Regions from separate parts of the Homo sapiens genome. Here region 2 is linked to region 1. Evidence: promoter capture Hi-C in 16 types of primary human blood cells and fetal thymus (Javierre and others, 2016). All regions are on one chromosome and are shown on one strand. Each heading gives the region's core, a stretch centred on a gene start or on the middle of the fragment in contact. The rest is flanking DNA. Distances are from core to core; before and after follow the strand shown.

Evidence for each region. The method cuts DNA at HindIII sites, captures the fragments that hold promoters and counts their contacts. A CHiCAGO score of 5 or more calls a contact.
Region 2: a contact is called between the fragment with the promoter of ERCC6 here and the fragment with the promoter of CSTF2T in region 1, in 2 of 17 cell types (non-activated CD4 T cells and activated CD4 T cells). The highest score is 6.5, in non-activated CD4 T cells.

Annotation. Positions count from the first base shown.
Region 1 is chr10:51,698,107-51,701,492 of GRCh38, forward strand. It overlaps CSTF2T (cleavage stimulation factor subunit 2 tau variant), which reads right to left and starts at 1,489. Exons shown (of 1, transcript NM_015235.3): 1 at 1-1,489. The coding sequence starts at 1,443. All of the region lies in intron 3 of PRKG1 (protein kinase cGMP-dependent 1), which reads left to right. RefSeq lists enhancers at 1,177-1,756, 1,881-2,569 and a silencer at 2,323-2,617. The HindIII fragment of the contact is 5,025 bases long and covers 1-2,501 here.
Region 2 is chr10:49,537,355-49,540,740 of GRCh38, forward strand. ERCC6 (ERCC excision repair 6, chromatin remodeling factor) reads right to left here and starts at 1,767. Exons shown (of 21, transcript NM_000124.4): 1 at 1,608-1,767. RefSeq lists silencers at 276-464, 1,410-1,699 and enhancers at 2,120-2,179, 2,210-2,449. The HindIII fragment of the contact is 12,532 bases long and covers 1-3,386 here.

The DNA.
Region 1 (3,386 bases), core at 239-2,738:
AATGGGACCAGGACCCTGAATTCCACCAGTCATAGGGCCTCTTGAACTGGGGACAGGGCCCCTCATCTCCAATCCTCTTGCATCCATGCCCCTTGCTTCCATCCCTCTGGTTTCCATCGCACAGGTCTCCATTCCTCTCCTCTCCATTACACGTGTCTCTAAGACCTCAGTTTCCATGGCACGAGTCTCCATCGCTCGAGAATCTCTACCACCTCTACCATCCATAGGTAGACCCCTTTGATCTATCATGGGGCCTCTGGGCTCTCCAATTAGCAGTCTGGGATCTCCTAATGGCCCTCCCCTCATCTCATGTGAGGAAGGGCCACGAGTGTCATGACCAGAGGCATGATGCATGGGGGGACCCTGATGGGGTGGACCCAGATAACCTCTGGGCTCCACTTCTCCAGTGACTGAAAGCAAAGTCCCTCCACGTGGGTCATTTGGAGCATCTCCTAACAGTCCTCGAGGAGGCAGACCACCAGGAGTCACGGGTCCGCGAGGTATAGGAGCTCTAGGATCTGACATCTGCACTTGTCCCCGCTCTAAAGGCACTGGGCCAACCCCTGGCATTCCAAGTTGGGGCTGCATTGCTCCTCCAGGAGTTAAGGAACCAGGACCAGCTCCGGGAACTGCAGCTGGTATTGGCCCTGGAGCTGGAATTCCACCCTGGATAGGAGTCTGCATCAGAGGAGGAATGTCCTTCACAGGTCTTCTAGCCAAATGCTGAGGCTGAGGAGCTGGAGGATTCTGCTGGTTCAGCAGAACATTAGGTCCTGGGCAGAGCCCAGGGCCAGGGCCAGGGCCAGGGCCAGAGACAGACACAGACTGAGATTTGCCTGGGATCAGTGGTGTGACATGTATCTTCCGATGCAGAATTTTCAGAGCAATCTCTGGATCCATGATTCTCATCACTACTTGTGCCTGCAACAGTGCATAAGCCAGTTGTGGATTTTGAAGTAACATGTTTCGAGCTTCCTGGTGGCTGTTTTGGACACAGAGCTTCATCTGCTTCATCAGCTCAAACATCTGCTCCGGGGGGAGACTGGCTACTGCTCTGGTAATCGATTCAGGGGCATCTTCTGGATCGATGGGATCCCCATAGGGTGAGTCAATAATGGGCGCTGCAGGCCCAAGGCTCTTTAACTCCTCCTTATTCTTTTCACTGGCAGCATTGTCCACCCGAAGCGCTCTCCCACTGAACTCCCGCCCATTGAGGTTCCGCATGGCACTAAGCGCGGTCTCCTGGTCTTGGTATTCGCAGAAGCCATAGCCCTTGGGTTTTCCCGTCTCTCTATCGTATACCAGCCGGAAACTGACAACAGAACCAACCTCCGAGAAAATGTCCTTTAACTGCTCCTCAGTTGCCTCATATGGAATGTTCCCCACGAACACGGAACGCAGTGATCGATCCATTGCCGGGTCTCTCACCGCCAAACTCGACATGATTCCGGTTGTGCAGACAGCCGATAGCGGATTCTTCGAGGCGTCTGTCCTCTTGCGACCGACACTTCCGCTGAGCAACGGAAGCGGCTTTCAAGATCCGGGCAGAAACTTTACTAATTCGCTTGAATCGTTCCGCTTGCCTGTGGAACCTGCATCCCACTAACAACTTATCTAATGCTTTCAGTCCCTGATCCTTCATGGTTCTGTCAGCTTCTTATTACAGAGTCGCATGATTCCTTTCCCATTTCACGTTCCGCTGACTTTCTGTGGGGCCCCAACAGCCCCACTACGACACGCTTGGTACGAGATGACCACAGTAAAGATGGCCGCATAGACTTCACCGTAGTAACTGGGAGGGGACTCTTCCCTTGACGTCAAAGGCGGTTTTGCTTCCGTTCCGCTGGCGGGAAACCGCCAACCGAAAGCGGATTTAAGGCGGCGTGTTTTTCGTTCTGACAAAGTATTTTCATGTGGCCTTTTATTATAGTATAGTTAAGCTAGATTTAAAATCACATTCCAGACTGAGGGAAAAGCGTAGTCGTTTCAGCACATTTGAGATTTGCCCCTTAAACTAAAACAGTATTATATCTCCTTTTTAGAACAACGTTTTTGGAAATTAACTGACAAGAAATATAAACTGAAGCGTGTGCCGGCTGGGCCCTGCCCCCATTCTGTTGCTTCCTATAACCGCTGTTAATGGATGGGTGGCAGACCCTTCTAGGTTTTTCCTGAGCACACGGGCAGCCGTCGTGCTATTCCTAATATTACGGTTTTCTTCCTTAATAACAACCGATTTCAATATTAATTGGTGATTAAATAAATTAGTGATTAATTAGTTATTAGTATTTTATGGCTTCAGAGTATGGAATAAAGAAATTTACTTAACTATCCCTACGTTGATTGGTTCTGATTTTTATTATATCATGCAGTGAGTCCACCACTTCCATGAAGGGAGAAACAAATAGCGGGTGTTTGTCTTCTGCTGTTAGCTTTGCAGGTAGGAGTTAAAACATATTCAGTGTGGTGTTTCCCCGCCTGCAATTCGAAGCTAGAACTGAAGCTTGGAGAGGGCTAGGTAAATTCCCAAGGACAAGCAGCTGGAAAGAGGCCAAGTCAGGATTCTAACCCAGCTTGGTCTCGCATAGCTCCAATTCTACACTGCCTTACGTGTATTGAATATATGAAATGAAGCTAGTGTGATTGAAGAAATGAATTTTAAATCTCATTTTTTATTTAAATATAAAAACTAATGTTCAGTAAGCTATTGGAAAACTTTTTTAGTATTTAGAACAACTTGGATATAGAATCTACTTTTGCAATAATAAATTGTGTTCTAAATAAAAATCATTTTGAAGAACACTAAGACAAAAAATAAAAACAAATAAAAAGAAAGTATTTCCAGTCAAAATTTAACATACTGGTTGAGGTGTGCCATACATGTAACATACATGAAAGATTTTAATGATCAAATACAAAAAAAGTAAAAATAGCCCATCAATTTTATATTTTTTATAAGTCGAAATGTAATATTTTTATATATTTGAGTAAAAAATTATTTTGAAGTTAATGTTATTCATTTCATTTTACTTTTTTAAATGTGGCTATTAGAAAATTTAAAATTATATGGATAGATTGCATTATACTTCTGTGGACTGGACTGCTCCAAGCCTGTGCTTTAATTCCAAAACAGAGAATTATTTTATTCTGAAATATGCCTCTTAAGTGGATTATGAAACTTTTAAATTTCAGCAAAAAAATTGTATTATGTATCTTCAGTATCCTATTCCAATGAATAGATTTGACATGAGTATGATGGTTTAGCTGCAAATAAGACATCCATTTACCTTCAAGTTTTTGAAACAGTTCTGCACTTAGCTGTTCACCCAAGATGCGCGACAGTTTATATTTGCAAGTGACAAGGTTCATTTACATCACCTAATAAG
Region 2 (3,386 bases), core at 517-3,016, 2.2 Mb before region 1:
AAAAAGAAAGAAAGAAATCATACATTTAACAAATAGTTACTGAGAGTTAATTACACCAGGCAATGTACTAGGTTAACTAATTCCTGTCCCCAAAGAGCTTAGAGTCTCATGGGAAAAACAGACATTTAAAAACTATATATATATATATACACATACACACACACACACACACACACACACAAATATAATTGTGGTGACTGCTGTTAAGAGGAAAGTACAAGGCTTTCTGACAAAATGAGAGAAACCAAATTGAAATTGTGGAGGTAGATGTGGGGTCAAGGAGGCCTCTCTGATAAAGTGACATCTGATAAGTCAGTCAGGTCGAAAGTAAAGTGAACGTCTTGCAAGGAAACAACGTGTGAAATTTTTTTTTTTTTTGAGACGGAATTTCGCTCCGGTTGCCCAGGCTGGAGTGCAACCTCCGCCAGGCTCCGCCAGGCTCACTGCAACCTCCGCCTTCCGGGTTCAAGCGATTCTCCTGCCTTGGCCTCCCGATTAGCTGGGATTACAGGCATATGCCATCATGCCCGGCTAATTTTTCGTATTTAGTAAAGACAGGGTTTCACCACGTTGGTAAGGCTGGTCTCGAACTCCTGACCTCGGGTGATCCACCCACCTCGGCCTCCCAACAACGTGCGTAACTTTTAAGACTAGAAAGAGCTGATGCACTTGTGAAAATGCAAGAAGGCTGGAACACCGAATTTTTGACTTTATTTTTAACTTTGAGTTAAGAAGAGCAGAGAAGGGCTCCGTTCATGGCCTAAGTCTTGCAGAGTATCTTCTAAGGCTTAATCATCTGGGACACTAGTATCTTCACCGTCCTCCCCCATCACTGGGGCTCCCGCAGCCAGGGGCAAGCTGGGTCTCATTTGGAGGGTTGGTCGGACACAGGCACAGTTCTGAGAGGGGACAGGCAAGGGCCAAATCACACAAGGCCTGGGAAAACACGAGCATGGATTCCACTCCCAGTGCAATGGAATGACTCTGAAAACTGTTAAGTAGGCTGATGATGGCATGACCTACTTTATGCCAGAGACCACCTGGACAACTGTGCGGATAATGGATTGGAGGAGACAAAGCAACAAGAAGATGATGGGAAAAGTTGAGGAGAAAAGCGAGGGCTGCCTGTCACAGGATGACAGCAGTTAAGACGCTGCGTGGAAGTCACGTAACAGCAGCATTTACAGGCGGCCTGCCTCATCCGCCCACACTCTTATCAATTTGACTCTATCAACGCCCAAAACGTCGGACGTACATCTAGCCCGACTCTCTTTAAAATAACAGCTCCAGCATTTTAATCGAGATCAAAAAGGACCCAGCTGACCCTGCGCGCAGGGGGCCTTATACAAAGTCGGAGAAGTAGCTGGGTCGCTGGCCGGCCAGGGACTCAAGCCGCCTCAGGTGAGCGCTCCTTGGCGCTACTTCCGGTCTCAGGTGAGGCCGCCGGAAGCGGGCACTTGGCCCTAAGACCCGCTACAGTGCGTCCTCGCTGACAGGCTCAATCACCACGGCGAGGCCAAGGCGCGGGGCCGCGGCCCGCCCGAGAAGCCTGAGCTGGGCCCCGACACCCCCTGCCCGACATTCGGCCGGGACCCCCGAACACTCACCCAGGGCCGCGCGAGCGCCCACAAGGAAACAGAGACGCTACCGCCGCCAGCCGCCTTGGAACCCAGCTCGACGGGCCGTGGCGCCTGCGCCCTCAGCTCAACCATAGACACCGCCCCCAACAGCGACTCCGACTTCTGCTGGTGCGGGGAGGCCCGTGGCGCATGCGCCTGGCTCAGCGTTTGTTTTTAAGCACGGGCAAGACCACGTGGTTTGGAGGGACGGGCTCAGCAGCGCCTTTCTACTTGCGTGCGAGCAGGGCGAGAAAGCTGTCTCCGCTGCCGGTCAGCTGGGTGGCTTGCGAAGGACGCTTCGCCCCTAGCGAAAAATACCCTGCTGGCAAGGCAGTTATGAAAGTTAAGACATATTTCCACGTAGAGGGGGATGCGGGTGTGCCATGCGAATGTAAATCCTCACAATTAACCTTGAACCCTGCAGAGAAAGTCAGCTTGGGCAGGGAAGTTAGCCGCACTTTTTGGTCGCCAGGCTGTGACCTCTCTTGTTGTCTCCCACGACTGAACACGGGAAGGATGGAGAGCTGTCCTGCTTCTCTGTTCCCCCTCCGCCACGCGCGCACCTGGGCGGAGTGAGTGCCTACAGAGCCTGCTTACATGTGTACATTGCCTTAAGTCCAGCGTTTAGTATCCGTCCTCAGATCTCAGAGGTAGGCGGGGTTTCGAGGCAGGCGAGAATTTTACCGTGGTGCGTTTGAAGAAAGAAGATGTCCACACAGAGGTTCAGAACAATGGGAGGAAGTTGAGCTTCGCCTGGGGAAAGAAGCAGCCCACGATGCAGGATGGCTGTACCAGACAGAGCTTCTCAGCTCAGGATCGGTGCTAGGAGAAGGTGGACTTTCCAGGGCCGCGAGGCAGGACGTCCTCTGGGAGGGCAGTGACTGCGGGTCACTGCCTGGGAAGTGCTGTCCTCACTTGGAAGCCTGAAGTCGGACAATAGGGAAATGGGGTCGGAAAGGGGACTAGGAAATGCTCCATAACATCATCTTATTCCTCCTGTCAGCGGCCCCAACCCACAATGTAACTTGTTTTTGTTGGTGGTAGTGGGTTTTTTTGTTTGTTTTGTTTTTGTTTTTGTTTTTGAGACGGAGTTTTGCTCTTGTCGCCCAGGATGGAGTACAATGGCACGATGTGGGCTCACTGCAACCTCCTCCTCCCAGGTTCAAGCGATTCTCCTGCCTCAGCCTGCCGGGTAGCTGGGATTACAGGCGCCTGCCACCATGCCCAGCTAATTTTTGTGTTTTTAGTAGAGACGGGGTTTCGTCATGTTAGCCAAGCTGTCCGCGAACTCCTGACCTCAGGTGATCCACCCGCCTCGGCCTCCTAGAGTTCTGGGATTACAGGTGTGAGCCACCACGCCCGGCTTGTAACTTGCTTTTTTTTTTTTTTAAAGGAGAAAGAATTCTAGCGATTTCTTGGATAAAATATTAAGAATAGAAAGGCAGTTGATTGACATTAGTTTCAATGCTTGAAAGTAAAAGCAGATATATAGTGGATCCCAACTTTTGAGACTGAGGTTCCCTTTGCAGCTATTTTGGAGACCCTTCCTATATCAGAATTTGGACAGGAAAAAATGGTCCACTCAAAAGGGGAAGTTGAGAGTTATTATTTACAAAGACGTGGGCGGGGTTCAGGAAAACAACTCAGGGTGGCACAACTGGAGCTATTAAGGGCCGAATTGTGTCCCCTCCCCAAAATTCATATGCTGGAGTCCTAACCGCCACTCCCCACCCCCACCCCGGGACCTCAGAATGTGACTGTATTTGA